Regions from separate parts of the Homo sapiens genome. Here region 1 is linked to region 2. Evidence: promoter capture Hi-C in 16 types of primary human blood cells and fetal thymus (Javierre and others, 2016). All regions are on one chromosome and are shown on one strand. Each heading gives the region's core, a stretch centred on a gene start or on the middle of the fragment in contact. The rest is flanking DNA. Distances are from core to core; before and after follow the strand shown.

Region 1 (5,573 bases), core at 2,800-5,299, 790 kb after region 2:
ATGTATATGGAAAAGGTTCAAAGATGCTTTTAATTTATTTAATGACTATTGCCTTCCTATAATAATAATTTTCATCCTTAATTATGATAATACTTTTAGCAAGAAAAATTCCTTTTTACTACAGTTTTTAGATGCAAAATGCAGTTTGGTTCTTTAGTCAAATCCACTTAGAGGGTATATTGCAGTGAAACTGTGAAGGATACTTCACTACCAATGTATAAGCTTTGTTGAATTTGTATCATTTTCTTTCAGTAATGAAAAGCTATTCATTATACAGTATGGAAATAAAAATTGCTTCATTGACCATTCATTTTTACTTATTGGGAAATACTATATTTCCAGACATTTTCAAGTGTGCTGCATTTAAAAGAGGTAATAAAGCTTAAGCATAGAGTTGAACATTTTCAAATGGTATTCTAAATGGAGCATCGTAACTTACTCTTAACATAACATGATTATCGTTGTAAAACAAGATTGAAATATACCCATCAGGAAAAATATATCTTTCAAGCTTGAGAAACTCAACTTAAATTGTTTCATATTTTCTTTTCTTTTTTAACCAAAAACTCCACATTTTATAGTTGGAGACTTTTGTTTCTTTCTGGATGTCTGACTCACTATTTTGACAATAACTTTATTTCATCTATCATTCTTACCATGTCCTGTTCTTTTAGAATGATAACTATCTAAATTTAATTAATCTTATCATTGAGATATATTCTAGCCATTTTTTGTTTAGGCCATAGTTTTTTCTTTAAGGAAAAAAAATGACCTGAAATTAAGAAATAAAATATGCTTTTATATTATTTTTATTATTTTAATCCATCTTTGTAACACTGTGTATGTTTGCATTTTGGAACTACAAGGAAATTTTAAAGATCATCTTGAACAAGTTCCTTAACTTCTCAGTGCCTCATTTATCTTACTTATAAAATGGGACAATAAACTTTCTGCTTCTTAGGGTTGTTACAAGGTTTAATGAGATAATACATGTGAATGACTTAGCCAAGTGTCTAAAACAGAATAAAGACTTAGTAAATATCAATTGTTATTATTTTTACTATTATCTAATGTAGTCTTCCCATTTTCCAGTGAGGAAATGTAGACATGCTATACTGTAAGTTTGGATGTCTACCCATCATGCCTCCCTTTGGAACTGGCCCCCACCAACAGGAATGGTTCCTTGACACATGACAAAATTGGACCAATGCTGGTAAAGCTGAGAGGTTATTTAGCAGCATGGCTGGCAATGGAGGCTTCCAGTGATTTTTAGCAGGCATGTGGAAACGTTGTAAAAGCTAGTTGTGAAGAGAGAAGAATAAATTGGCCAGGGATAGAGCATTGGGCCTTGCATAGTAAAAAGAGTGGCTGCTCTGTTTCCTGATGATATTTTAGTTCCTGTATCTTTTTCTCATAAATCGAACTTTGTGTCCTTGGTTTGCACTGGCTATCCCTGAAAACTCAACAATTACTCACTTGTACTTATGCTGGTTTAAGCCAATATCTGTAACTTGCAACCAAACAGTATTGACTATGATATACTGGAGTAAGTATGCCCAATTGCATAAGACTAGCAACTGGAAAAACTGGTATTAGAATTCTTTGTAACATTATGGAGAGAGCATCTTCCTTGAGATAATACCACCTTGAGTTTGAATTCTGGTTCTTTCAGTTAGTAGCAGAGTGATGTATGCCTTTGAGGAATATTGATGGAATCATCATACTTTCAGGGTAGCCAGTTTTGTGACTAATGAATACTTTCAAAAGAGTTGCCTCAGTTCTCATGCCAGAGGATTGTCTTGAAATACCACTTAGAATTGATCTTTGTAGCTATTAGAAGGTATGGTGGGAATTAAGGTTAAGAATAAGAACGTTGAGCACACATCCACTTAGTATTACCAAGGATTGCTCACATCATACAAAACTCTATTTTAGTGGGTAGAGATGTGCTTGATGATATAAAGCATTAATGCCTACATTGTCTGCAGTCTCAGAACTGGAAGTTAGCTATATGTAACTATTAACAAGTGAATATCAACCAGTAAAATGAAAATATATTCACATAGGAAAAGCACAATGTTACAGAGTTATATATATTTACATCCACAACATACAAAATGTGAGAACCCCGTGAGCCTTCCCTTCATACTCTTTTGTTCACAAAAAGTGGATGTTCTCACAATATGATATTTAAATTTTAATTTGGGTTATATTTGTTTTTTTCAATTGCATTTGAAGCAACATCAGAATCTATGGCAATGCTAAGCTCTGGGCTTGAGCACTTTCCTAAGTTCCTTCACCTCTTACATGTCCTAATTTTCTCCAGGTGGTGGTTAAAAATTCCTTTTTGCTCTAGTATACCAGAATCCATGAGTCAAACATCCATATTAAATCACAACTTATAAATATTTTTCTCCTGATCATGTCTTGGGAAAAAAAGCAACAACAAAAGTCACGATGGAAGGGAAAGAGAGAACACAAGAAAGGACCAGGGTAATAGATCATCCGTCCCTCAACTTAGGAGATTGTTGATTCTATCTCACTTCTATCATGTGATGGGGTTTGTGAGACTCTTCTACTTTTCATACCTACATTTTATTTACAGCATTCTTCCTCTTACTTTAATAATAAAAAGTAGGTGATATTATTTGTCTTACTATATTTTAACAAATAACTAAGGCATCTAATACCTTAACGAAAAACAAAGCCAAATGAATTGTAGAAAATAGACTAAAATATTATATATGTGTATTTCTGGTATATGAAAGTTTATTTTTATGCATATTGTATTTCATAGATACAGGCTTACAGGCAGACAATTTACGTTAGAATCTCAACTCTGTCACTTACTGTAGGACCTTGGACAAGTTATTAAGCTTCTTTCTGTTTCCATGTCCTCATGTGTAAAATGAGAACAAAACACAGAGCCTGCCTTACAGGGCTGTGAAAATTACTTGAGCCTTTATACATGAAACACTTATAAATGTTCATAGCACAAAGTAAATATTCTTCGAAATTTGCTTTTTGATTTTTTTAAATGCATTTTATACACTTCCATGAATGAGTCCTCATTTGACCCTGAGAAGTATTGGTGCGTATTATCCTCACTTTACTGACCCAGGAGAATAACTGACACACCTTAGGTCAGAACCATGCTAGTAGCATCAGGGCTGGGATTCCAGCAGCGATAATCTCACCCCAATTGTCCTATTCTTTTGCACTTCACCTCAGTTGCCTCTACTTAAAGAAAGCTGCCAGAGTAATTTCACCCATCTTTCCTTGGAGTCCTGAGAAATTTGAGGAAAATAGACTATCGCATCATAAAGAAAGCAAAAAAAAGTTTTAATAATGGGGTAATGTTTGATTAGTGTTGGGATCTGAGAACTTTCCCCTGAGTTGAACTTCCCCACCCAATTTCAGGTCAACCCGGGTGGTACAGAGATGGTCTCAGTGAGTTGAATTTTTGGAAAATGGAAAAATGTGCATTTTGAGTAAATAAATTCTGAAAAAGGGAAAGTCAAAGTGAGGCTGAACTGTGTACTCTCAGTTCCCATTTCTTCTCATCGTCAATCAGATATGTCTCTCCCCTTAAAGAGAAAGGATAGGGACAAGAGCAGAAAATATTACTTCAACACCGTTTCCACCCAGAGAGTACAAAGGAATTCCTGTTCCTGTCTAAGGAGAATAGAGGTAGTATACTAATAAGAGCCTCCCCTTCATCTCCACAATGCCACTAAACAGGAAATTCTGGCCTTCCCTACACGCCAAAAGAACAACAGCACAGGTGACTTAAACTTTAAATCTTAACATGGCCCCACTAAAAATATGAACCAATGGTCAAACCACCAGCTTTTACCCTGTCATCGGTAGGATCATTGCTCCTTCTCCCATGGGGAAGAGCCATGAGAGGAGGAAGAAAAAAACAAGAAGTATCTCCCAGCACTGTTTTCTCTTAGCCAGTGGGGTGGAAGTTGAGCGCCCTTTAGAGGAAAATGAGAAATGGGGTAAAAGTGACTTGCCTAACATATCTTGTGATATGAACTGTCTCTTATCTTTTTAAAATTAAAATAAACATAAGTTATGAAACTTAAGCAAACACTATATACAGTAATCATTTTAGGTAGTTGGGATTTGTTTTATTTTCATTTTTTGGTATGAATTTCCCTGCCTTGTGTACCATGCCTATTTTCTCTAGGTCCATCAGAGGATGTGGAAAGAAAATCCATCTTTGGTTTGCTTCAAGTCCAAGGCCATAGTTGTCTGAGTATTTGAGATACCTCCCATAGAGAAAGAGAACTCTATTTTGCAAGACAGTTGGAGGCTACTCTGTTGATAATTAACAAGGTCAGAATACCTGAGAAGCATTATTTTTACCCTGCCTGCTCAATTTTAGTTGGTGGCAACTTGATTTGAGTTTATTCCTCATTTCTTTTTGTTTCATCAAAATACTGCCTTGAGGGCAATAAAAAAAATCCAATCCCAGAAAATGTTAAATCAGAGAGTAGCAGGTGTTTTCTTCCCCTTATTCCCTTGATCCCAGCCCTATACTCAGACACACACACCGCATACACACACACATACACACACATGTCCTAGAAAAAGTTAAATCAGCGGGTAGCAGGTGTTTCTTCCTCATGTTCCCTTCATTCCAACCTGCTCACAACTGGGAACTGGGGATGGGGGAAGGAGGGAGGAAGAAAGGGAAAGAAACCGAGAGAGAAATGCCTAGCTCTACTAGAACATCACAGAAGCAGGGAGAGAAATATGGTCATGATCCAACCCTTTGCTCAAAATATTATGCTGAACCTTTTCAGATTCAGCACATAGGCAAACTACCACCAAGTTGCAATGAAAACCAACCCCCACTTCATGGGGGCTCAGGCCAGATGTGAATGCAGCAGTCCAGAGGTGAGGCAATTATGTGCAAGAATCATGTGAAAGAGCATTCCCCAAAACGAACTCACTTAAGGAAAACATTTGGTGTTTACAGGACTTCAGCCCTGTTTTCTGGAGATTTTCCATCACTATAAACACTGACATATACACACATGAACATAAGTGGGTTTTTTAAAATGGGCCTAGAATATGTGATTTCACTAAATTATCTCATTTATTAGAAATGAAAAAATTAATGGTATAATATCAAAAATTTGGCAGCTGAAACAGTCACATAGACAAATACTGAATGGAAGCCAGTGCCCATAGGCTGGTGATAATACATGGAAGCTTGGAACTGTTAGTAATCTTCAGATGATTTTGTAATGCAGAGGTAGATGACCTGCCTAGCTAGGGAGTGTGTGTGTCAAAACCGGCCCCTTGGAGCTCTGCTTTCTGCTTCATTTGATTTGAAAGCCACCTTCTAACACATCCAAGGAATAGCAGCATATTATAAAGAGAGGCTTCAGGTGTGATAGGATAGGCTGAGAGCATTTCAAAGTCCCTTTGCTTCTAATGTCATCAGCAGTTCCCATTTCTTCTTTCACAGTGTAATGGGGTAGACTTTAAATTCTATCCCACTTGAACTAGTTACAGAACTGAGATCTATAATTTAACATTAGATGAATGAGATTTCT
Region 2 (5,107 bases), core at 1,371-3,870:
GACCAGGGCGGGCGCAGCCCTGGCGCATAGCGCGACCCTTTCGTCTCTCAGCTGAGCTGCGGAGGAAGGGGGCTTGGCAGCTCAGCTCACGGAACAAGCGCAGTGCTGTCTTTCATGTTTCACTGTTCAGTTTTTGTAGCTTTTTTTAATGGCCCCAATACATAACTCTCTTGTGAAAAAAAAAGTTTAATAGCATCCACCCTACACACTTATGATCACCAATGGAGATTTCCTTTTAAGCCCCGAGTATGTGGGCACATTCGGCTGCCCGCCCAACCCCCAATCCTCCCACCCCAGTATGGAAGACAGTCGGGCGTTGAGGACTGGTTTGCCAAATTCAATCACTGTCCACAACAGCTGGTCACTTGTCTCCTTTTAGTGAGCCCCTGACTCTTTCTAAGCCCTTGGAATCCAGAAAAGTGTATCTTGCCATCCTCCAGTTTGAGGTAGACTAAAGCCTGAGCAGGTGTCTTTGCCTTCCTGGGTCATCCCTAGGCAAGGATTTGATCCCCAGTTTGGCTCTTGCGGGAGTTGAGAGGGAAACAAGGATGGTTGTTTCAGTGCAGGCGGGGCTGCAGAAACTGAGAGAAGGGAGCAAAGACAAGAGGCTGATAACAGCTCCAGAAACTGGACTCCAGAGTCCTCTTGACCTCCTGGGTTTAGACAGGGGGCTGATAGTGCAGCTGGGGCAGGAACCACTCTCCTCCTCTTTCAGCAGACTCCTTGGGAAAAGGAAAGGGAGAAACAAGCAGCTGGATTTGCTTTGGAGAATCTTCGTCACTTGAGGAATGGGCTGTGTATTTGCGTGGCATGGGGGAACTTACAAATGGCATTCAGCAGCATCAATGTGGCTTAAACCCTGACAGCTTTGCCACAGACCTCAGGGCATTGCCTGAAGAAGGAACAGCACCCAGGTTCAGAACCATCCTACAATCATCCTCCCCAGAAGAAGGTGATTTCAGTCAAGTAGACCATTCTGAGAGATACTGTGACTGTTCTCAATGTCTACTTTTAGGGTTGCCTTGTAAGGATCTGCCTACCCACCCTAGTTAAGGGAGAAGTATATAACTTGAGCCTAGAACAGTGGACAGGGGGTGTGTTCAGCTCTGGACAGTATCTCATGTAGTGTGCCCATGTTATGCACATCTATGTGTGATGTCCTCTTTCTTTATCACAGTGGTTTTACTACACTTTCCAGGTAACCTTCTGTTTTACAAGTACTTTGATGTTACTCTGGCGGTGGAAGATTCCAAACCTGAAAAATCTGCATTGTTTTATATGCGTTTCATTATTGAGATGGAAAACCTTAAGTAGGTACTCAATAATGGGTAAGGCCGTTTCTTAGCTTCAACCTTGGTTCATCTGAATTGACCTTATCAGTCAATAGCACGGGCCGTTTCATTAAAATAACCAATGAATAATGTATCATAGCTTAGTTTAAAGTTTCAAATATGTTTTTAGACAGAAACATTCCAAGCATGCAAGTCAGGTGTATTTCCCAGATAAATAACAGTCTGGGGACGTTGCCCGTACAGGGAAATTCTCTGTTCTCAAGGAAATTTTCCCTTCTCGGGTTTCCTGAGGTTGAAATCCAGCGCGCACGTCATTAATCATTCACTGAGGTCGGTCCCTCAGTCAATGGCAGGTCTGGGTAAGCTAAAGCGAGCAGTTAGCTAACCCTTCCTGCCACGGGGATCCTGGGGCGAAAGAGGACAACTGGGCGGTCAGTTACATGTGCTGGTGTCCAGCCGCTGCCTCTCTTTCCCCGGTCGGAGCGCGGGGGTGCGTGTGCCCTCACTCTCACGAATACAGACGGAGAGCTTCCCAGAAGGAAAAACAAATTCGTCATAATGTTCAGCGCAGCCGAGAGTTTCCAACAAGAAAGCAGCTCCAGTCGTGGCATGATGACTCAGGGTGGCGTTTTAAACGCTGAATAAACCCATTCCTTAGCTCTTTAATAAATCGCTAATAACAGCAAAAACAGCCTTCTCCCCGAACCGCGCCACACCAAAGGCTTCCCAAGTTGGGCTGCGAATCCCTGTTTGGTTTTCCAACGCCGAAAGACGTAGAAGCAGTGGGATCTCCTGGTGGGACGCATTTCTCCAAGGGCTCCCAGAGAGAGGACGAGATAGCAGGGTTTACAGGGCAAAGAGAGGAGAACCTGGAAATCGTGTCCTGGGGGGCAAGAGTGCGTTGCCCAGTCACAAGTGTGCTGTAGAGGTGGGAGAGGACAAGGACCCATTTCCACATTTCAACCCTCCGTTTCTATCGCTGCCCCTGGAGGACTCAGCTGCTAACGCCGAGCTCGTTTCCACGCGGCTCTGGTCCTAGTCGGGGAATCCGGGTGGCCGCGCGACGCGAGAGAACTGCTGGGATGCGTGGCCCTGGTATGGGCGCACCCAGCGTCCGGGGCGCAGGTTCTCTCAGCCCAGCTTCTCCTCCCACTCACTCGCTCGGATCTCCTCCCTCCTTCACATCCCCCGCCCCCGGGACCGCGAGGCTCCCTCCCCGCACCGGCCAGTGAGTACACAAAGCCGCGGGTGAGGGGAAGCTTCGCAGGCGTGCACGGAGCAGTGAGATCACTGGCGTTATAAATATCCCGGTGCCAGCGCGGAGATCCGCTCGGGTGGCCTCTCTCTTCCCCTCTCCCCTTCTCTTCCCCGAGGCTATGTCCACCCGGTGCGGCGAGGCGGGCAGAGCCAGAGGCACGCAGCCGCACAGGGGCTACAGAGCCCAGAATCAGCCCTACAAGATGCACTTAGGACCCCCGCGGCTGGAAGAATGAGCTTGTCCTTCCTCCTCCTCCTCTTCTTCAGCCACCTGATCCTCAGCGCCTGGGCTCACGGGGAGAAGCGTCTCGCCCCCAAAGGGCAACCCGGACCCGCTGCCACTGATAGGAACCCTAGAGGCTCCAGCAGCAGACAGAGCAGCAGTAGCGCTATGTCTTCCTCTTCTGCCTCCTCCTCCCCCGCAGCTTCTCTGGGCAGCCAAGGAAGTGGCTTGGAGCAGAGCAGTTTCCAGTGGAGCCCCTCGGGGCGCCGGACCGGCAGCCTCTACTGCAGAGTGGGCATCGGTTTCCATCTGCAGATCTACCCGGATGGCAAAGTCAATGGATCCCACGAAGCCAATATGTTAAGTAAGTTACTCGCTCTCCTACAAAACCCGTCCTAGGCGGCCGCGGAAGATTCGGGAGGGACAGCAGGTATTCGCCGGGACACAGGCTCACCTTCCTGAGCCCAGGCCACTGGGACCAAGCTGATACTCAGAAACAGCCGGGCGGGTTGGGTGGAGATGCATCTATATGGCGTGCGCACACGCACCCCTCTCCTGGGCATGAGGAATTGCGATTTCTCAGGTGTATGTTACCTAGAGGCTGGTGCCCAGACGGGTACCTTGTTTTCAGTTTGCTCTAGCCTCAAAGACGAGTCCCCAGCCATGACAGGAGAGAACAAAAAACTCATTTCTTCTCACTCAATTTGTTTACCTTCTGCTTATGAACTAGCCTGGCATTTTTCATTAGGCATCAAAGGCAGCCCTTCTCCCTATCCATAACTGAAGTTATTTTTTGAAAAGAAGAATCAAATCCCAAATACTTCCCTCTTCCATCCGCTACCATAAACCTCAAATTAATATTGTATATGTATATGTATATATGTATATAAGTCTATGTATACAATGTATACACATAGGTAGATAGATAGATAGATAGATAGATACACAGATAGATAGACAGACAGATAGATAACTAGGGGACACCAGACAGACATTCCTGCTTGGAAGAAGATTGTGCTCTAGAAAACTGGACGCGTTTAGAGAGGGAGACATGATAAACATTGAAATTACTAACTCCAGAGTTGGATTTAACAATGTTTAGTATCTTGAGACCATGACTACACCGTATTAGGAGAGTGGCCAGCCTTTGGTCCCCAAGAACAGTTAGGGGAAAGTTCCTTATTTTAGAAGAAACGCAGAGGTTAAATTTGGTAGGGGTGCAGATTTTGTAGGACTTTTTATAAACAAAGTTTTAAATTTTCCCTCTGAGTTTTTTCTTTCAGCACGCTCTCTTTTTTCCTTTCTCATCTCCTCTTCCCTTCCACCCCATCTATGTTTCCAGACCATCGCAGCCACTCCTCTGGTTTCTCTTCACTGCCTCTAGGCAGCTGGGGGCAGGGACGGTTTGGGGCTGTGAGTAGGAGTGGGGAGATCTCTGTGGGGCTTTTGCTCAGTAGGGCCAGATCGCTCTTCCAGCGCGGGTTGGTCCACCAGGCAGAGCCCCAGCCAGGGCCTGTCAGGTACCCAGGGAGACCGGAAATGTAGCCAGGAGACAGCAGCGCTCACAGTCACCTGGTTTCAGTGTCAGCCTGGTTGCTCCTAGATGTTCCTAACTTGCTCCATCTCAGACCAAAGACTCCACGGGCCATTGGGCTCCTTCTTACACAGGCTCCAGAGGAGCGTGGACACCACCGGCGGTCTGAAGATTTGGCAGCCAGCAGTCTCCAGAGGGGGGTCGGAGGCGCGCAAGTGGGTAAGGCGGTAGGCTGGCTAGCCTCCTCCGGTGGGTTAAGGGGGCCTAATGCGGAAGACCTGATGGTTCATGCTGAGAGAAAAGCAGGTCTATGCCCGCCCCTCTGCGCCTGTCTAGTCTATCTGATCGCGCTGATTCAGCAGCCTGCGGCGCACGTGGTGAGGGCGCCTGGAGCGCCCAGCTGGAGAGAGGGCCCTCCGCACACGCACCAGCGAGTCCCAGGGCCTCCCTCACACTCCCGAGAGGAATCTATTTCCATATTTTAGAGTTTATTTCACTCATCGAATAACTGCTCATTTGGGGGATAAAGGGCAAGATCTGTTGGGGTGAAATGGAATTTTCTGAGATTTGAGGAATAATCAGTAACATCTATTTATTTCCATTCGTCCTTCTCATTTTGTCTCAACGGTCTTTTGACTCCATCAGCCATCACAGCTTATTCCCACTTCCGGCAACCTTTCCTTCTCTCTTACAAGAAAACTTTCTTTCTTCTGTTCTTCTTGTAACGACCCGTGGAGTCATTGGTCTGAGATGGAGCAAGTTAGGAACATCTAGGAGCAACCAGGCTGACACTGAAAGACA

What was found. The method cuts DNA at HindIII sites, captures the fragments that hold promoters and counts their contacts. A CHiCAGO score of 5 or more calls a contact.
Region 1: a fragment that was not itself captured here is called in contact with the fragment with the promoter of FGF5 in region 2 in 1 of 17 cell types (naive CD8 T cells); the score reaches 5.1 in naive CD8 T cells.

The regions. Positions count from the first base shown.
Region 1 is chr4:81,057,229-81,062,801 of GRCh38, forward strand. It overlaps BMP3 (bone morphogenetic protein 3), which reads left to right. Exons shown (of 3, transcript NM_001201.5): 3 at 1-399. Among named protein-coding and RNA genes, the nearest start is that of BMP3, 29 kb to the left of the region's middle. The HindIII fragment of the contact is 2,350 bases long and covers 2,875-5,224 here.
Region 2 is chr4:80,264,044-80,269,150 of GRCh38, forward strand. FGF5 (fibroblast growth factor 5) reads left to right here and starts at 2,621. Exons shown (of 3, transcript NM_004464.4): 1 at 2,621-3,136. The coding sequence starts at 2,782. RefSeq lists enhancers at 2,316-2,847, 4,590-5,107. The HindIII fragment of the contact is 3,016 bases long and covers 2,550-5,107 here.